Linked DNA regions of Homo sapiens: regions 1, 2, 3, 5, 6 and 7 are each linked to region 4. Evidence: promoter capture Hi-C in 16 types of primary human blood cells and fetal thymus (Javierre and others, 2016). All regions are on one chromosome and are shown on one strand. The core of a region is centred on a gene start or on the middle of the fragment in contact, and the rest is flanking DNA. Distances in the headings are between cores, read along the strand shown.

Region 1 (2,705 bases), core at 185-2,684, 620 kb after region 4:
TTAAGCAGTCTGTGGATAGCAATACAATGAAATACGATTTTGCTATCAAAATGACAAATGTGTAGGCTATGTAGATTTGTAGAAAAGTTGATACAAAAGATGTTAATCATAAAAAGTAAGGTTCACTTTAAGTCATATGTGATAATTACAACTATCAGAACTATGTTTGTTTAGCTGTAACCATCAGAAGAGGTTATTTATTCAACACATATTTTATTGAATACGTACTGTACCAGTGCAGGAAGTACATGATGAATAAGATACCGTCCTTGATCTCAAAGAACTTAAATTCTTTGCTGGAGGAACTTAAATTGTCTAGGGCATTAAATCTTAGAAATGGGTGGTGTTTTTCCCAAAGGGACACTTAAACAAACAACAGAAGCCATTTCTTTTTAAATGTAAAGATGGGTAAATATTTAAGAAAAGTGTAACACTAAAAAAAGTAAGAGTGTAGACCTAGCAGTAGAAATTATAATTAAGTATGTTTGAAGGTAGTTTTTTTTTTTTTTGAGATGGAGTCTCACACTGTTGCCCAGACTGGAGTGCAATGGCTCGATCTCAGCTCACTGCAACCTCTGCCTCCCAGGTTCAAGCGATCCTTCTGCCTCAGCCTCCTGAGTAGCTGGGATTACAGGCGCGTGCGCCACCACACCTGGCTAAATTTTGTATTTTTAGTAGAGACAGGGTTTCACCATGTTGGCAAGGCTGGTCTTGAACTCCTGACCTTGTGATCCACCCGCCTCGGCCTCCCAAAGTGCTGGGATTACAGGCATGAGCCACCACGCCCAGCCCAAAGGTAGTTATTAATATACGGTATGTATTTATCTGGAATTGACCTGGCGAATACTAGAATGATTAAAAAAAAAAAAAAAAAAAAGGCAAAAACTGCAATTACTTTTGCACCAACCTATTATATGGCTCGAAATAATAGTGCTTTGTAGATCTAATTGAAACAATTTCTCTACAAGAAATACTTTGGAAACAGAATTATCTTATTTATCCTGAATGTGGAGGCCAGGTTTATTTTTATTTTCTACAGTGGAAGTACTTAAAAGTGGCTGTTTGTTTATGTAGTAGGCAGGAGAAGCCCATGGTTTGGAGTTCACATTTGTTTGCTTTGCAATTAGGTAGAATTCTTTTTTTTTTTTTTTTTTTTTTTTGAGACAGAGTCTCACTCTGTTGCCCAGACTGGGGTGCAGTGGCACAATCTGGGGTCACTGCAACCTCCACCTCCCAGGTTCAAGTGATTCTTCTGCCTCAGCCTCCCGAGTAGCTGGGACTACAGGCACGCACCACCACGCCCGGCTAATTTTTGTATTTTTTTTTAGTAAAGACGGGGTTTCACCATATTGGCCAGGCTGGTCTGGAATTCCTGACCTCGTGATCCGCCTGCCTCGGCCTCCCAAATTGCTGGGACTATAGGCTTGAGCCACTGTGCCCGGCCACAATTAGGTAGAACTCTTTTAACTCACTTCCCTGTACTACAATTACTATTATGAAAAGTGTGCTCAGACTTCCTCTAAAACACACTACAGTGTATAGAAAGATCTACGGAGTTAGAGAAAGAAAGAAGTGCAACTAACACCTTTTCCTTTCTTTAAGATTAGACATGTTAAGTTTCATGTTTCAGTGGTTCACGTTTTCTCTTCAGGCCGTTTTCTCTTTTTCTTTTTTTTTAGACGGAGTCTCCCTCGGAGGTTGCCCAGGCTGGAGTGCAGTGGTGCAATCTCAGCTCACTGCAACCTCCCCCTCCTGGGCTAAAGTGGTTCTCAGCTCACTGCAACCTCCCCATCCTGGCTCAAGTGGTCTCGTGCCTCAGCCTCCCGAGTAGCTGGGACAACAGGAGAGCGCCACCAGGCCTGGCTAATTTTGCATGTTTTGTAGAGGCAGGGTTTCACCATGTTGGCCAGGCTGGTCTCAGACTCTTGATAAAATAAATGATTAATTGTGGCATTTTGGTTTTCAAAATGAGAATTGTGTTTAAAATGCAAAAGAGGGAAAGAAAGTTATATGTAATCTTCCTATATTTAGCTTTTATTTTACTTCATTGGCAGTCTGGGTAAAAAATTCATAGAAGACAGAAGACTTGGTTTCTAGTCTTGGCCTGAAACTTTTAGCTGTCACAACTGGGGGATGCTGTTGGCATCTAGTGGGTGGAGGCCAGGGATGCTGCAAAACATTCCACAGTACACAGGACAGCGCCCTTACAGGTTGAAGGTTTATACAAATAATATTAAAGCTCTTTTTTTATATTAATGTGGAAAAATGTTATTTTGGTTCCCATGAGAAACTGCTACTATTTGGAATTTAAAAAAAAAAAAAACAACTAAAGGGAATTTGGGGAAAATCTATGCAGGATATGAACAGGAAAAAAGAAAAAAACCTGACCTAGAGATAAGAAAGGAATTTTGGGAAAAAAACATGGGAAGGAGGATTTTCATACAATTAGTATGTATTATTTTGATGACATTCCCCCAGTATGTGCATTTGTTATGATGTTTTGGAACTTTTTATGGCATGGCTTTAATTCAGAAAGTGGTTGCTTGGATTTTAGAAGCAAGATGTCAATATCAGAATAACAGCCCTTACACACAGAAATTATTTCAGGGTGCTATAATTTTGAAAGTCTTTTAAAAATAAGTGATTAGTTACGGCATTTTGCTTTTCAAATGAGAATTGTGTTTAAAATGGAAAAGAAGGAAAAA
Region 2 (2,890 bases), core at 299-2,798, 600 kb after region 4:
AGATGAGGTACATAAAGAGGAAAATATTTTCTACCTCATACCTTTAGCTTAGCAGAGCTTTGTTCCCTAAGGTCAATTTTGCTAATTCTCAGTGCAGTGTTACTGACAATCCCACAGCTTTTTACCTTTTCCATGTTTATTTTTACTTTTAAATAATAAAAAGGCAAATGCTCCTTGTCCTTCTACCTTTGTCAAAATACAAACTGTGGCTCACTTTTAAAGTCAATGTAACTTACTAAAGGAAAAAAATGAGCTTAAGTTTTTTTTTTTTTTTTTTTTTTTTTTTTTTTTTTGAGACGGAGTCTCGCTAGGTCGCCCAGGCCGGAGTGCAGTGGCGCGATCTCGGCTCACTGCAAGCTCCGCCTCCCGGGTTCACGCCATTCTCCTGCCTCAGCCTCCCGAGTAGCTGGGACTACAGGCACCCGCCACCAGGCCCGGCTAATTTTTTATATTTTTAGTAGAGATGGGGTTTCACCATGTTAGCCAGGATGGTCTCGATCTCCTGACCTCGTGATCCGCCCGCCTCGGCCTCCCAAAGTGCTGGGATTACAGGCGTGAGCCACTCTGCCCAGCCATGAGCTCAAGATTTTAAAAAGTCCTCAGCATCCTTGATCCTTTGGCCATGAAAAGAAGGTAACTTCTGCGCATGTGCAGTTACCCTTTGCTGTCCCATCACACTATTTGCCCTATAAAGGAACATCCGTTGCTCTCTTTTGAAGTACAAAGTTCCTCTCGGCCCTGTTTTCTGACCCTAAGTAACTAGCTTCACTCCTTCTTCTGCTTGTTCTGGTCTTGCACTCATCAGTTTGCAAAACTTCATGACTGAATGATGTCCCCTCCCTTGCCAGGATGGTGATGTGATTGGCGTCAATTCATTGAGGGTGACTGATGGAATCTCCTTTGCAATTCCTTCAGATCGAGTTAGGCAGTTCTTGGCAGAATACCATGAGCACCAGATGAAAGGTAAAGCAAGTTGGGATTTTTTTTTTTTTGGTTTCGTCTTGTGCTTTTCAGGAACACTCAATCTTTTGTGGTGACAGCAATTTTTTTGTTTTTGTTTTTGAGACAGAATTTTGCTCGTCATCCAGGTTGGAGTGCAGTGGCGTGATCTTGGTTTACTGCAACCTCTGCCTCCTGGGTTCAAGCGATTCTCCTGCCTCAGCCTTCCGAGTAGCTGGGACTACAGGCACCCACTGCCACGCCCAGCTCATTTTCGTATTTTCAGTAGAGACGGGGTTTCACTATGTTGGCCAGGCTGGTCTTGAACTCCTGACCTCCAGTGATCCGCTTGCCTCGGCCTCCCAAAGTGCTGGGATTACAGGCATGAACCACCATGCCTGGCCCGGAGACAGCCATTTGAATCCTGTAGACTACTGGGTCACTCATTTGTACTCAGCTCCTATAATGGTGATTTGAGCAGCAATATTGGGGGACTAGGCACAAACCAAGCATGAGTTGTACCCAGAAGTATTTGGATTGAGCTAATGTGGAAATGAAACCCAGGGGCTGGAGGTGGGAGGTGGGTGGGAGGAGTGTAAGTGCTAATGACAAAGGTTCTCTGAAGCCTGTGTTTCATCCAGGTAACCTGAAAGGACAGCTGTGATGGCAAAGAGATCCTGGGACATGGGTGTCTTTTAAGCTGCGCTAACAGGAAAGAGGTTTTGTTGTAACACATCATAACTTTCCTTTCCAGGAAAGGCGTTTTCAAATAAGAAATATCTGGGTCTGCAAATGCTGTCCCTCACTGTGCCGTAAGCATGTGTTTGAATATGTCTGGGTTGTTTTTCAGAGGCAAAAACCATAGCTGCACAGTCTTAACAGAAAAGCTGAGCCACTTGGACCACAGCCAGGTACTCTTGTGACCATAGGCCCTATCTGTCTCAGGGTATGTATCTGCCTCTGCCTGCATCAGCACTAACTATACATAGTTTATTTCATTGTGGCTGTATTTTATAATGTCCAGTGGTTCTAGGCTTTGGGATAGAGGCTCAGCCCGAACTGAGAGGAGAATGACTGTGATTAGCTTGATGGAATCTTCCTCGGCCCTTGTGAACCTTGAGCAGAACAGAGTACCTACTAAGAATTTCAGGCTTTTACCAGGGCTCAGGAGACTAATTCATTGTTTCCTAATCTTCTCACTTCTCTTAGCCTTAGTGAAGAATTGAAAATGCATTATCCAGATTTCCCTGATGTGAGTTCTGGGGTTTATGTATGTAAAGTGGTTGAAGGAACAGCTGCTCAAAGGTAAGAGAAGTGAAGGCCTTTGTCATCTACCTTTGCTTTTTCTAAATGTGTGCCATGGTAAAATGCATGGGGGATCCAGACTTGATCTGTCCAATACAGTGGCCACTACTTACATGTAGTATGTACTGAGCACATGAAATGTGGCCAGTGTGACTGAGGAACTGAATTTTGAATTAAAGTAAGTTTAATTTAAATTAAAAAACCCAGGCCAGGTGCAGTGGCTCATGCCTGTAATCCCAGCACTTTGGAAGGCCAGGGTGGGTGGATCACCTGAGGTCAGGAGTTTGAGACCAGCATGGCCAACATACTGAAACCCCGTCTCTACTAAAAATACAAAAATTAGTGGGTGCGCCTGTAATTGCAGTTACTTGGGAGGCTGAGGCAGGAGAATCGCTTGAACATGGGAGGCAGAGGTTGCAGTGAGCTGAGATCACGCCACTGTACTCCAGTCTGGGCGACAGAGCAAGACTCCACCTCAAAAAAAAAAATATTATCATTATATAGTAGTATATTGGGGGGGTGTGTTATTTCAAGTGGATTTCAAAGACATAGGAAACAGAGTGTAAAATAACTATTTTAAAAATATCACGTTAAATGATAATATTTGGATATATTGTATTAAATAAGATATATTATTAAATTAAAT
Region 3 (2,700 bases), core at 110-2,609, 660 kb after region 4:
GTCAGTACTATCAACTTTTCTAGAGACCAGTTAGCAAAGAAGAGTTTAACATGACTACTCAGGGCAAAAAATATGTTTCTTAGAGTTCCTTGGATATACAAAAGACCAAGCTATAGATAGGGCTGCTTCTTCATTAACTAGAATGCAACATAGCTTTCACTCCTGCTGCTACTTCTGGTACCATTGCTCAAACTGATGAAAAGAGATTCAGGGTACCAAATTCCCTTGAAAAAATACAAATATATGTAAGATATAAATTTTATTGTATTTAAGATGTACAACATGTTTTGATGTAAATATAGGTGGTGAAATGGTTAGTCAAGCAGATTAACACATCCATCATTCCACATTGTTGCCCATTTTTTGTGTGTGTGGCAAAGAGCACCTATAATCTCTTTTAGCAAAAATCTTGAATGTAATACAATATTATTATCTATAGTCCTCATGCTGTACCTGAGATCTCTAGACTTGTTTGTCTTACATATCTGCTACTTTGTATCAGACCTACATGTCCCATTTCCTCCACCTCCACCATAATCAGTGTTTTATTTTCTGTCTCTGGATTTTCCACTTCTTTTTTTAGATTCCAAAATAAGTGAGATCATGCAACATTTTTCTTTTTCTGTCTGGCTTGCTTCACGCAGCATAACATCCTCCAGGTTCCTCCATGTTGTGGTAAATGTCAGGATCTCCTTTTATAAGGATGAATAATTACCAGTCTTATATGTGCCACAGTTTTGTCCATTCAACTGTTGACACTTTGTTTGTTTCCATATCTTGGCTAATGCTGCACTGAAAATGGGATAATACAGACGTCTTTATGAGGTGGTGTTTTCATTTTCTTTGGGTGTATACCCAAAAGTGAGATTGCTGGGTCATATGATAGTTCTGTTTTTAATTTCTTTAGGGAACTCCTATTGTTTTCCACAGTGGCTGCACCAATCTACATTCCCACCAACAGTGCTCAAGATTCCTTTTTTTCTATACTCTCACTAGCACTTGTCATCTCTTTTATTTATTTATTTATTTATTTGAGACAGAGTCTCTCTCTGTTGCCCAAGCTGGAGTGCAGTGGTGCAATCTCGGCTCACTACAACCTCTGCCTCCCAGGTTCAAGCGATTCTCCTACCTCAGCCTCCCAAGTAGCTGAGATTACAGACGTGCACCACCACACCTGGCTAATTTTTGTATTTTAGTAGAGACGGGGTTTTACCATGTTGGCCAGGCTGGTCTGGAACTCCTGACCTCAAGCGATCCGCCCGCCTCAGCCTCCCAAAGTGCTGGGATTACAGCGGTGAGCCACCATACCTGGCCGTTATCTCTTTTTGATGGTAGTCATCCTAACAAGGGTGAGGTGGTATTTCATTGTGGTTTTGATTTGCACTTCCTTGATGATTAATGATATTGAGCATCTTTTCATGCACCTGTTGGCCATTTTTATGTCATCTTTGGAGAAATGTCTATTTAAGTCTTTTGTTCATTTTAAAAATCGAGTTATTTGTTTTTCTACTATGGAGTTGTGTGAGTTTTAAAAAATATATTTTGGATATAAGATACATGGTTATAAGATACACCTTATAAGATATGTGGTTTGCAGATATTTTCTCCCAATCTGCAGACTTTTCATTTTGTTGGTTGTTATCTTTGCTGTGCAGAGCTTTTTAGTTTGATAGCTATAGTAATCAAAACAGCATGGTAGTGGTATAAAAACAGACACGTAGACCGATGGAACGGAATAGAGAGCCCAGAAACAAATCCAAACATGTGTAGTCAATTAATTTTTGACAAGGGCACCAGGAGGATACAATGGGGAAAGGATAGTTCTCTTCAATAAATGGTTCTGGGGTAACTGGATTTCTACATGCAAAAGAATGAAATTGGACCCTTATCATACACCATACACAAAAATCAACTCAAAATGGATAAAATACCTAAATGTCAGACTTGAAACTGTAAAACTTTCTAAGAAGAAAACGTTGAGGAAAAGCTCCTTGACATTGGCCTTAACAATGATTTTTGGATATCACACCAAAAACTCAGTCTACAAAAGCAAAAATAAAATAGAATTTTAATGTGACATGGATTCCTCAAAGATATAGGTGATGTATAGGTGTAATTTCCACTAGTTTTCAAAGGTAAAAATAGCCAGTGGGACTACCTGAAAGTATTTTATAGTTATTGAGTAAAGTAGTAGCTAAAAAAAAAATCCCAGGTAGAACATATCAAAATTGCATTTATATAAATCTCACATAGCTCAAGTTGGACATTTCTTAAAGGCCAACTAACTTTCAAAGTACTAACCACGGTTCCCAGGAATTATCATAAAATTTATTATATGTAAAGCTCAAGTTGAAAACTTGTCATATAGGAGTAGCTGAAATTCTACACTGTGCAGTCTGCCTTTTGATGGCTAGTGTGCATCTGAACTGGAGTTGCCCATTTGCATTATTTTTGCAGAGCTCCTAATAAGTGGTAATGGGCATGGGTGAACATAAAAATGTTATCCTTCAGAGTAGAAAAAAGATTGGAGACAACGTACAGCTACCTTCCAATATTTGAAGAACCTTTACTGTGTTAGATAAATAAAACTTTATTCTCATAGGACTAAATAATTTTTAAAGTCTCTTCTGATGCTGAGAATTATCATTTTGTATTTCAATGTAAGTGATATGTTTTAAAGATATTTTATTGGAAGTACAA
Region 4 (2,700 bases), core at 161-2,660:
CCCCTGCCCCCTTTAAATCGAAATAATCTTCACTCCCTCCCCAAAACCATCAAATTATGGCCATGTCTCTCCCTGCCTCCCTTCCATAACACAAACACATCGCCTTCTCCCTCAAAACAGTAAAACCCACACCTCCCCATTTCACAACAATCACAATCCCATAACCACCAGCTTCTCTATTCTCTAGCCTTGAAAGAAAGACACAGAATACACACAAATACAGGAACAAAAGGCCTCCCTTCCTAACACTTTAACGACCTCCATCCCCTTCTCTTCCTCCCACTCTGACGCTAAGTCGATCGTTCTCATCCCTGTCATCATTCAGTTAATTTCCTTCCCTAGCCCAATCCTGTCTTCCAGTTTCCTGCGTCTATTTCCCATTCTCCTATTGCAGCCTGCCTCATCCCCTTTCCTAATCCACCTTTTCCTTCACTTCCATTCCTCATTTCTCCCTTCATTCCCATAAAATGCCCCATTTCTCCAGCAAATTTATCCCCTTCTCCCAGACTCTTCTGGTTCCTACACTCCATCCCCAAATCTCCCTATTTATCAGTCCACCCAGGTCTGTAATCTCCATGCAACTCTTCTCCCCTTTCCCTGCCCCTCCCCGATCCATCCTTATCCCCGCCCCCATCCCACTTTCCCAATTCCCAGCTCAGCGCCACTCCGACTCCCATCCCACTCCCCACCTCCCCTGGCCCACCCCCCAATTCCCTCCACACCCCCCACCTTGCCATCTGCTCCTCCGTCAGGACTCCCCTCGAGCCCTTTCAGGCCACCCGCTTCCCCTTCCATTCCTCCTGGGGTCTGGCGCTCCATCCCTAGGTCGCCCCCTCCCCGTCGTTCCCTCCTCAGCCCTTCCTAGCACTACACACGCGCGCGCGCGCACACACACACACACACACACACACACATACACACACGCACACGCACTTTACCTTCAGTTTGTTCCATTCTAACCCCCCGGCCGTGTCAGTGCGATCACAGGAGAGACACGGAGGCCCGGAGTGGGGCTGGGGTGCGGGCAGCCGCTGGGGCCGCGCGAGGAGGAGGCGGAACCGAGCTAGGCCGCATGAAATCCCCGGGCTAGATTTTCCCCGCGCCGGACGCCTCTGCCATGGCGGCCGGCACTGAGGAGGGCCACGGCCGGGCCGGGCCGGGCGTGCTGCGGGAAGAGGAAGGCTCGGGAGGTGGGATGGGAAGGGGAGGCCGAGGGACGGGGGTCGCCGCGCCGCCGCTGCTGCCAGAGAGGAGCCTGCGGCTGGCAGCCCGGCCTGGGTAGCACGGTCCTCGGCGCTCGGCTCGGAATTCGCACGCCTCTCCGCGGCGACCTGTGCACAGCCCCCTCGGCCTCCGCCTCCGTGCTGGCCGCCGCCGCCGCCTCTCCCGCCGCCGCCGCGCACAAAGCCCCCCCACCCCGACTCTCGGGGCGCCGCCGCCGCCAAATCCTCAGCCCCTCATTGGCCGCGGGCCGCGGCGCCTGCCGGGAAATGCAGTCCCTGGTTCGGGACGCTGGGGCTCCGGAGGAAGCGGCGAGTCGGCGGGGCGGAGGGGGCGGGAGCGCGAACCAGGAACGCCCGCGGCAGCTAGCGTCTGGACGACTAGGGAGACCGGGCGAGAGGGCCGAGGAACGAGGGACGGGGAGGGACTGTACGTGGGAGAGTGACACACAAAACACCCCGGGAAGCCGGAGGAGGCGTGGAAAGGTGGGGCCCGGGAGGTAAAACTGGGATCGGCGCGTTCAGTGAGGCTGATTAAAGAACAACGCGCAACCAGCGCCATACGGCGCTCCTCAGGGTGACTCGGCTCTCTAGCTCTTAAGGGTTAGAAGCGACCCTCGCACGGTCCCCGGTGGGTCACCGCGCGAGGGCGGGGCAGTCCAGGCGACCCCTCGGCCGTCTCCCGTCCTACGGCTGTCAGGGAAGGGCTCCGGTTCCGGTAGGGTCTGCATTTGGAAAGCCGGGGGCGATGCAAGACCGCCTTGGCGTCGTCTCCCTCTCAGCCCCGGCTGAGCTGTCGGATGGTCCCCCTCCCCCGGTTGCAAGCAGTAGGAGACCCGGCCGGCGGCGCCGGCTCGCCGAGGGAGCGCCTCGACCTCCCCGGCAGGCGCCGGCCCCGCGCGCCTCTTCCTGCTCTGCTGCGGCCCGGAGGCTTGTGGGTAACCGGGAGGACGACGTCAGCGCCCGCCGCATCCCCGGGTGCCCCCCAGCCGCGGGGGACCGCGACGGCTCCGTGACCGTCACGTGCCGGAGGCCGCGGCTGCTCGCGGCCAGACCTTCGCATCGAGGGACGTGAGGGACATTTGTCCTAGAGGGCCCAAGATAAGAACGAGAGGAAGAACCGGGAGGCAACTCTCCGTCATCCTCTAGCCCCCCGCATCCTAGGAAACGTATGGAAAACAATGGAAGGTTAAGTGTGTGCACAGTGATCTGGCCCTGCAGGAGTGTGCCGACCAGGTGATATTTCCTGGGGCCTGGTGATAAGGATTTGGAAGGTTACAGCACAGAGACGTGAACGTAAAAAGGAAACAGAGGCAGCAAGCAAATGAGGAAACCGATACTCTGTTCTGAGAATAAAGCCATTTTACCGCTAGACGTCATACTCTGTAGACGTTATAGTGCTGGATGTCTTTGGTACTATTACAAGAAATTAGATATCTCTATCTTTAAATATCACTTAAGGAAATTAAATGATTTCTAC
Region 5 (2,700 bases), core at 17-2,516, 580 kb before region 4:
AATGTGACCCCTATGGGTGTGGCATCCCAGAAAGGCTGTACCGTGGAGCCCGGCTCACTCAGAGAAGGATGGATGCTATCTCCTAGGTGTTGGGGAGAGAGAGGGAATTGGAGGTAGAAAGAAACTGCCGTTTGGCTTGGGGAAACCCAGGGCTCAGCAGTGAACTCTCTGTTGACCAAACATCCCCTCCATCCTGGAGCTCTGCCCCTGTCACTCAGCCAATGCCTACAGTGTATCTTCACCCCATGGGAGGAGGCAAAAGACCCAGGCTCTGCCCTTCTGTCCTTACAGTCTCCTGGAGACAGGTACCAGCTTACAACGCCGGACAGGATCAGGGTAGCAAATATAGCTTCTATGGAGGAAAGGTCAAAGATGAGTATCTGCGTAGGTAGAAAACATTGATAACTTCCATCCTTTTGGGTCTGTTTGTATTTTAAAAGAGGTCTGCGCCGCGTGTGTTGGCCCTTCCCTGTAATCTCAGCTACTCTGCAGGCTGAGGCAGGGGGATCACTTGAGGCCAGGGGTTCAAAACCATTCTGGGCACATAGAGATCCGTGTCTAAATTTTTTTTTTCTTTTTTGGCCAGTCACGGTGGCTCACGCCTGTAATTCCAACACTTTGGGAGGCCGAGGTGGGTGGATCACGAGGTCAGGAGTTCGAGACCATCCTGGCTAACACAGTGAAACCCCGTCTCTACTAAAAATACAAAAAATTAGCCGGGTGTAGTGGTGCGCGCCTGTAATCCCAGCTACTCATGAGGCTGAGGCAGGCGAGTTACTTGGACCCGGGAGGTGGAGGTTGCAGTGAGCCGAGATCGTACCACTGCACTCTAGCCTGGGCGACAGAGTGAGACTCCTTCTCAAACAAAAACAAACAAACAAACAAACAAACACTTTTTTTTGTTAGCTGGGCATGGTGGCATACTAGCTAGTCCAGAGGCTGAGGCAAGAGGAGTTCAAGACCAACCTGGGCAACATAGTGAGACCTCCATCACCACCTACCCCTCAAAGAGGTCTGCTTTCTTCACTCAAAAGTTTGGCTCCCCCCGGGGGGCTTTTAGGTTGTGCATGGAGGAAATGTTTAAGGTCAGTTGGGGGTAATTTCCCAGCCTCCACAAATCAGGGGGACACAGACACACACATAGATGAACATTCCATCCTGTTGGACACATCTCCCTCCACCTCCTATGAATGGAAGTTTGCAGATATGTGATGTATGATTTATGTTTGTAGGACTAGCCTGTTACACAAGGCTGAGTGCACAGTGGCTGTTAGGTAGCTCTGAGCAATGAATGAATGAATGGATGAATGAATGAATACCTAACTGTGGATGATTACAGCAGACTATGTTCCTTGTGCTCAAGCCAGGATGCTGTGACCCCCAAATCCCCATCAAGGTATACTGATTACCCCCAACTGTTTCCTCTTCCTCTCTGGCACCACCTCGGGTAGCTTCAGACAATGTGACCCCTATGGGTGTGGCATTTTCTTTTTCTTTTTCTTTTTCTTTTTTCTTTTTCTTTTTTTTTTTTTTTTGAGACAGAGTCGAGTCTCACTCTGTCACCCAGGCTGGAGTGCAGTGGCACGATCTTGGCTCTCTGCAACCTCTGCCTCCTGGGTTCAAGCAATTCTCCTGCCTCAGCCTCCCTAGTAGCTGGGACTACAGATGCATGCTACCTTGTCCAGCTAATTTTTGTATTTTTAATAGAGACGGGGTTTCACCATGTTGGCCAGGCTGGTCTCGAACTCCTGACCTCAAGTGATCCATCCACCTTGTCCTCCCAAAGTGCTGAGATTACAGATGTGAGCCACTGCGCCCGGCATGTAGCCCATTTTCTTAGGCTTCTGTCTCCAGATTCTGTCCCAAAGCCACAGATTCCCTTCCCATCCAAGCCCCAGTTTCTTGGTTCCCCCTGCTCACCACCAAGTTGGGGTGCCCTTGTAGAGAGGGTAGGTTAGAGAAAGGAGACTAGACCTATGAGAGAAGGCAGGGTGGAGCAGGACTCACTGCAGGTCTGTTTTCTCTCATGGCCTGGGCCTCCAGCCCTGCCTGGACAGCCCAGCTTCCAGGCTGGGTTCAGGGGCAGTCTCAGGACCCAACCCCCTAAAGCCCCTCCCTAGGCCTCCTTCTATTGCCAGTCGGTGTTCAGGGCTGACCTGACAAGCGTCCAGCCCAGGGAAGGGTGGCAGGGAAGTGCAGGAGCGGGCAGAACACCTTACATGTCCTCACCAACATTTATGTCCCTTGCAGTCAGGCTAAATGCATGTGAAGGCAGCCACGGAGGGACGGGAAGCCACAGGCCAGCCTTTCGCTTGAGGTTGTGTGTTGAAACAGGGCCTGTGCACGGCGAGCATCCTCACTTTTGGAGGTCTTACTGTCGTATCAACCATACTAAAATGTACCCACATCCGTCATCGAACATAATAATTATTGCTAATGACATAGTATGACATTGGGTAATTATGTCATTAAGCATTGGTTAATTTCCGTCTTTGCAGCATCTATATTTTAGAGGCAATGCTTCTTTTTTAGGTTTTAGGCATCTCTTTGAGCCCTGGAAATGCTCAAAGGCACAGCGGCTGCAGGGGAGGCTGAGAGCTCTGATTTCGGTGGGTGTTCGAGCCCCAGGGCTTTTTGGCATCAGCAAGCAGACTGCCCCCTACCAGTTCTGTGATGGTTTCCCTAAGACACGGCCAAGCT
Region 6 (2,700 bases), core at 1-2,500, 580 kb after region 4:
TAATAAATCCAGTGAATTATGGAACCAACTGGGAAGCACCAGGTGCTGGAGCAAGATTTGCCAACTTGGGTTGTTTGCGAGCAGCCTGGTCCAGGCCGGGTGCAGTGGCTCACACCTCTAATCCCAGCACTTTGGGAGGCCAAAGTGGAAGGATTGTTGGAGCCCAGGAGTGCGACACCAGCCTCAGCAACCCAGTGAGACCCCTGTCTCTAAAAACAAGCAAAAGTAAACCAAAAGAAAAGAAAAAAATAAGAGCAGCCTGGTCCAGAACCCATGATATAGAGGGTGTGGTCACAGACAACCAGGGAAGTCTGACTCTGTTGGAGAAGACCAACTTGGGGTAATTGGGTGTCTTGGCAAATGGATCATGGTGACCAAAAATCCAAGATCTGGAAATAACCAGGTATCTAAGCAGGTAGAAAGGCCAGTGATTTCAGCAAGCTTGTAAGCAGGTAAACAGTTCTCAGTTCTGGGCAAAAGTTCAAAATCACATTTCAATTCTTGAGCTACCAGGCAAGTAGAGGTCACCATTTCCCCATTTCCCATTCATAGAATGTCAAGGGAATTAGGCAGTTTATCAAGAGGGAAATTAGTTATTCGAAATGAGAAATGTGGTGCAAACTGGTCTTAGCTTGGCATAAGCCCAGTTGTTAGAACTAGGGTGCTATGTCAGGACAAGAGTAGCAATAAGTGGACTCAAGTGAGTTGCAGAGTGTTGCATTAGAGCTCTTCGGATACTTACTGTTTAATTTAGACTACAGGGTGAATGATGTCACCTAGAACTATGTAGTGTGCAATCTACACAATCGTATGTGGCAGGGCTGTGTCTAGAGATGGCACTAGTTCTTGGGAAAGGAGGGTTGCAGAGGTGGAGAACAGAATGAAGGAGGAGTTGCCTAAAAATTTTGGATAGCGGCAATGGCAGTAACCAGAAGTAGATATGGAAGCCTTTATGGCCTCTAGAATTCATTGCTTCAAACCATTGTATCTATTATAGTGCTGGGCTTATGTTAGATAGTCAATAGAAGCTCACTGGACTACAATAAAACTGCAGGCTGCAACGATTCATTTTAATACTGTCTGTCCTACTCATCTCAAAAACTGCCCTCAAGGACAGAAGCCCTGCTTTTTCTTTTGAACCGAGCACCAGAAACAGGTGCACACACATAAGCACACCAGGAAGAGATGAAGCTATGACCTTGGCACTTCCTTTTTTGTTTTACTGAGTTTAAAGTATGTTTTTAGTCTCATGGTAATTCATCATGGGTGGGTAGACTTCAGCTATATATATTTTTTTAAACCTCTGTTTCATGAAGCTACTTTGTGATGTGGTTTTACGATTTTGATGAAAGCTAAGCACAGGCTTTCCGTAAAAATAGATATGTACATAACCATAATTTTTGCATACAATTTTGGAGTTTCATTGAGTTTTTGTTTCTCATGAATCCCAGTTCTTAAAACTACTAGGAGAGATTATAGGCCAGGCCTGGTGGCTCATGCCTGTAATCCCAGCACTTTGGGAGGCTGAGGCAGGAGGATTGCTTGAGGCCAGGAATACCCTGCTCCAAAAAAAATTTAAAAATAAAACATTGTAATTGTGATCTCAATAAAATAATATTGTTTCTTCTCATATGGAATTCATTGCAATATCTGATTTTCTTTTTGAGCAGTATTTTAAAATAACATTTATTAGGGAGTAGCATTTATCTTCATGGCTGAGTTACTATCTAGGTTATCTGACCGAAAAATGTTCTTAAGAAGGAATTAGAGAATTAGGGAAGAAATATAACTAGTAAACAATTTCCGTCTTCACTAAATTACTAAATGTTTTAAGAAAGAGATTTAATTATTTTACCTATCATATTAGCAAAGATTTAAAAAATTATAATATTTAATTCTAGCAAGGGTGCATGTAACAAAAATGTTGGCAAATGAAATTTATATTATTGGCCAGAAATCTCTCTGGCCAGATGTAAGAAGAGATTTAAAAGGGTGTGAATTCTTTAATTTAGTAATTGCCTTGGGAGCTGAGGGTTCCTAAATATTCCTAAATACGAAAAAAGCTTTATCCCCAAAGATGTGAGTAGCAGCATTATTCATATGAGGAGAATAGGGAATATTCAAAAAATATTTTAGAGCAGCGATCCCCAACCCCTAAGCTGTGGACTGGTACTGGTCCATGGCCTGTTAGGAACCTGACCACACAGTAGGAGGTGAGCAGTGGGAGAGCAAACATTATCGCCTGAGTTCCACCTCCTGTCGGATCGGCAGCGGCATTAAATTCTCATAGGACTGCGAACCCTATTGTGAACTGTGCATGTGAGGGATCTAGGTTGTGCGCTTCCTATGAGAATGTAATGCCTGATGATCTGAGGTGGAACAGTTTCATCCCGAAACCACCCGTCATCCCCCTCCCTTTACCCTTCCAAGTTCATGGAAAAATTGTCTTCCACAAAACCGATCCCTATGCTGAAAAGGTTGATGACCACTGTTTTAGAGGACTAGGTGGGTGAACCATAGTATATCTACTTGGATCCCCTGAAAATGCTTACAAAGACGTCTGGTAACATGGAAAAATCCTTCTATTATTAACTGAAAAAAAAAATCAAGATATAATGTATCTTTGTATTTTGGAAAACAGAAATGAATAGCAAAAAGACTGGATTTGCTCTCAATTGTTATTTTAGAATTTTGTGAGGT
Region 7 (2,891 bases), core at 128-2,627, 690 kb before region 4:
AACAAAGCAGTCAGGGGTGAATGCCCAGGGCTAGCGTTGATGTATCAGGGCAGGTCAGGCTAAGGAAGGAGAACTTCAAAATCACACCTACTCCATCTCCCCGGCCTAGCTCCCCAGGAGCTGATAGGAGATAAACCAAACCACCCTCTTCAAAGCAGCTGCTCAAGGACCGGGATCAAACGCACAGGCTTGGAGACAAGCTTTGGTCCGCACTTCCTTTTGTCCCTTCCTCCCCACCACATCTCTAGAGGAAATTCTTAGGTGAGGAAAAGGAGTTCATTCTTCCTTCTTTTATCAAAAGGAGTTAGCTCTCTGTCCACACAACAACAGTGGCAGAAGGCAATAGACCAAGAACCAGGGAAGGGACCGAGAAGGACTCATTCTGTGCCCATTCTGCCAGCCTTTTGCTGTGTGTGACTTTGGACGCTCCCTTAAGCTCTCCGAGCCCATTTCCTCATCTGTCAAACAAGGATAATAACACCTGCCCAAAGGAAAGAAAATTGCTGTGAGATGCTGGACCCAAAGATGCATTTGGGGCCAGGCGCAGTGGCTCACGCCTGTAATCCCAGCACTTTGGAAGGCTGAGGCAGGAGGATCACCTGAGGTCAAGAGTTCAAGACCAGCCTGGCCAACGTGGTGAAACCCTGTCTCTACTAAAAATACAAAAATTAGCTGGGCATGATGGTGGGCGCCTGTAATCCCAGCTACTTGGGAGGCTGAGACTGGAGGAGAATCGCTTGCACCCAGGAGGCGGAGGTTGCAGTGAGCCAAGATCACGTCACTGCACTCCAGCCTGGGCAACAGAGCAAGACTCTGTCTCAAAAAAACAATGCATTTGGGAAAAGGTACTTTAACATGTTTATACAATCAACATTTTGAAAAATACAATCATCCGTGTTAAACCTTTTGGGAATACAGTGAGGTGTGATATAAATAAATAGCCCTATTTTTGTAAAATTCTTCGTTCATCAGAAACATTCACTGGGTACTAACTGCACTGAGACTGCCTGGACCTGGATTTGACACTCCAGGCTCACCTCCTACCAGCTTGGGCCTTGGGCAAGTTACTTAACCTTTCTGTGCCTGTGAAATGGAAGTAACCATAGGACCCATCTCCTAAGGTTTCTGCAAGGATTAAATGAGAGAATGCACGCAAAGTGCTTAGAACAGCGTTTGGCACTCAACGTTGGCTACTGTGGTGATGGTGAACCGCTCTGTTAGGCAATAAGTACACAAAGAGGATGAGGAAAACAAGAAGCATTCACAGTCCAGTGGGAGATCAGACAAGGAAGCAAATAGTGGCAGATGCCATGTGATAGGTGTAATAATAGAACATAATACCAACTGTGAGAATGTAGAAGAGGGAGCCTCTTGAGTCATCGGTGGGGCGGGCTTCCTGCAGGGCTGGCTGTCCTGGTCTTAGCCTGCTTGCTCCCACTGTTCCCTGGTGCCCCTCTCGTGCCCCAGGCTGTGTCTGAAGCCGGGGGATGGGGCAGACAGAGGAAGCGCCTTCAAGTGCCCTGAGTGCAGTGTGCTAAATCAGGGCTCCCGGCCAAAGCAGTAATTGCCAGCCGCTGAAAGATATTAAGCGCCAGGGAGGAAAACCAAGTTCTCTATGAGGCAGACTTTTCAGAGTTCTTACAGCTTGTAAAAAAAAAAAAAATGTAAATAGTTACCCAGTGAGATATTATTTCATGTTGTTGCCATTAGGGTTTGAGTGTTATGCAGAGAGAGGAGAGAGAGGCGATCATTCAGGCAATTCTGCCTCGGCAAGGACTGAAAACTACACATTAACCCCACACAACAAATCTACCCCCTCTAGGTCTTAACCTGACTCGAGCATTTTTTCCTGGGTGGTGAATTTTATGTAAATTGAAGTAGTGAAAAAATAATCTATACATATTCACAGTTTCTTAAAGGATTTTCTTGATGGCTTCTAGGGAGGGATGGGCTATTTTTTTTTTTTTTTAAGACACATTGCGGGCTGGGCACGGTGGCTCATGCCTGTAATTCCAGCACTTTCGGAGGCTGAGGCCGGCAGATCACTTGAGGTCAGGAGTTCAAGACCAGCCTGGCCAACATGGAGAAACCCCATCTCTACTAAAAATACAAAAATTAGCTAGGCATCATAGCACACGCCTGTAATCCCAGCTACTCGGGAGGCTGAGGCAGGAGAATCGCTTGAACCCGAGAGGCAGAGGTTGCAGTGAGCCGAGATCATGCCACTGCACTCCAGCCTGGGCAAGACAGCAAGACTCCGTCTCAAAAAAAAAAAAAGACACATTGAACTGGAGGCTGGGGAAGGGTTACTTTCATTTCTGTAGAATTCAGAGACAACCTGGGCTCTTCTGCTTGGGTTCCCAGGGCTAAATCTGGTGCTGATGTGGCTGCTCCCCTGAGCAATTGCTCCTCAGACACAAATGATGCAATCGGTTACAGCCATCATTTACCTTCAACTTTCTTTGTGCCAAGCATGAAACAGGTGACATGCATTGTCTGCTTCTGGTCTCCCAACTCTGAAGTGGCCACGCTTCCATTTTACCCTGGAGGAAACCAAAGCTTAGGGAGGTTCACTTGCCCGGGGTCCCCACAGCAGCCTGGTTCTGGGCCTGACTCTCTTCAGCTTGAACTGAGAATGATAGCAACACCTGATGTTTATTAAGCGCCTGACATACCGAACTGTCATTCTTCACCACAGTGTCATGGGGGCACTCTCAGGCAGCCCTCTCCCCTGTCCCATTTTAATGGTGGCCGCTCATTCCCAGGGCCATCTGAGGAGGACCTGGACAGTGGAAGGCCCCTGAGCCACGCATCTGCCACTTTTTTGCAGAGGGAGAACCTGTGTCATATGTCCTGAACAGGGATGTCTTACTCGGGCCTTCCAACCACAT

The links. The method cuts DNA at HindIII sites, captures the fragments that hold promoters and counts their contacts. A CHiCAGO score of 5 or more calls a contact.
Region 1: a fragment that was not itself captured here is called in contact with the fragment with the promoter of NSD3 in region 4 in 1 of 17 cell types (neutrophils); the score reaches 12.2 in neutrophils.
Region 2: a contact is called between a fragment that was not itself captured here and the fragment with the promoter of NSD3 in region 4, in 2 of 17 cell types (naive CD8 T cells and non-activated CD4 T cells). The highest score is 7.4, in naive CD8 T cells.
Region 3: a contact is called between a fragment that was not itself captured here and the fragment with the promoter of NSD3 in region 4, in 1 of 17 cell types (M2 macrophages). The highest score is 5.9, in M2 macrophages.
Region 5: a contact is called between a fragment that was not itself captured here and the fragment with the promoter of NSD3 in region 4, in 1 of 17 cell types (fetal thymus). The highest score is 8.0, in fetal thymus.
Region 6: a contact is called between a fragment that was not itself captured here and the fragment with the promoter of NSD3 in region 4, in 2 of 17 cell types (fetal thymus and naive B cells). The highest score is 6.1, in fetal thymus.
Region 7: a contact is called between a fragment that was not itself captured here and the fragment with the promoter of NSD3 in region 4, in 1 of 17 cell types (fetal thymus). The highest score is 5.2, in fetal thymus.

The regions. Positions count from the first base shown.
Region 1 is chr8:39,001,177-39,003,881 of GRCh38, forward strand. All of the region lies in intron 1 of ADAM9 (ADAM metallopeptidase domain 9), which reads left to right. Among named protein-coding and RNA genes, the nearest start is that of ADAM9, 5.6 kb to the left of the region's middle. RefSeq lists an enhancer at 1,608-1,747. The HindIII fragment of the contact is 5,526 bases long and covers 1-2,705 here.
Region 2 is chr8:38,980,805-38,983,694 of GRCh38, forward strand. It overlaps HTRA4 (HtrA serine peptidase 4), which reads left to right. Exons shown (of 9, transcript NM_153692.4): 6 at 849-963; 7 at 1,694-1,751; 8 at 2,149-2,244. Among named protein-coding and RNA genes, the nearest start is that of HTRA4, 8.0 kb to the left of the region's middle. The HindIII fragment of the contact is 9,484 bases long and covers 1-2,890 here.
Region 3 is chr8:39,039,035-39,041,734 of GRCh38, forward strand. All of the region lies in intron 11 of ADAM9 (ADAM metallopeptidase domain 9), which reads left to right. Among named protein-coding and RNA genes, the nearest start is that of SNORD38D, 22 kb to the left of the region's middle. The HindIII fragment of the contact is 4,086 bases long and covers 1-2,700 here.
Region 4 is chr8:38,380,861-38,383,560 of GRCh38, forward strand. NSD3 (nuclear receptor binding SET domain protein 3) reads right to left here and starts at 1,411. Exons shown (of 24, transcript NM_023034.2): 1 at 939-1,411. It also overlaps a transcript of LETM2 not described here. RefSeq lists enhancers at 1-468, 759-1,549 and silencers at 1,198-1,597, 1,628-1,777, 1,968-2,317. The HindIII fragment of the contact is 5,398 bases long and covers 1-2,700 here.
Region 5 is chr8:37,805,008-37,807,707 of GRCh38, forward strand. All of the region lies in intron 1 of ADGRA2 (adhesion G protein-coupled receptor A2), which reads left to right. Among named protein-coding and RNA genes, the nearest start is that of ADGRA2, 9.5 kb to the left of the region's middle. The HindIII fragment of the contact is 3,877 bases long and covers 1-2,700 here.
Region 6 is chr8:38,962,114-38,964,813 of GRCh38, forward strand. All of the region lies in intron 10 of PLEKHA2 (pleckstrin homology domain containing A2), which reads left to right. Among named protein-coding and RNA genes, the nearest start is that of HTRA4, 11 kb to the right of the region's middle. The HindIII fragment of the contact is 1,622 bases long and covers 440-2,061 here.
Region 7 is chr8:37,690,178-37,693,068 of GRCh38, forward strand. No RefSeq gene overlaps it. Among named protein-coding and RNA genes, the nearest start is that of ZNF703, 4.2 kb to the right of the region's middle. RefSeq lists a silencer at 1-248. The HindIII fragment of the contact is 2,359 bases long and covers 199-2,557 here.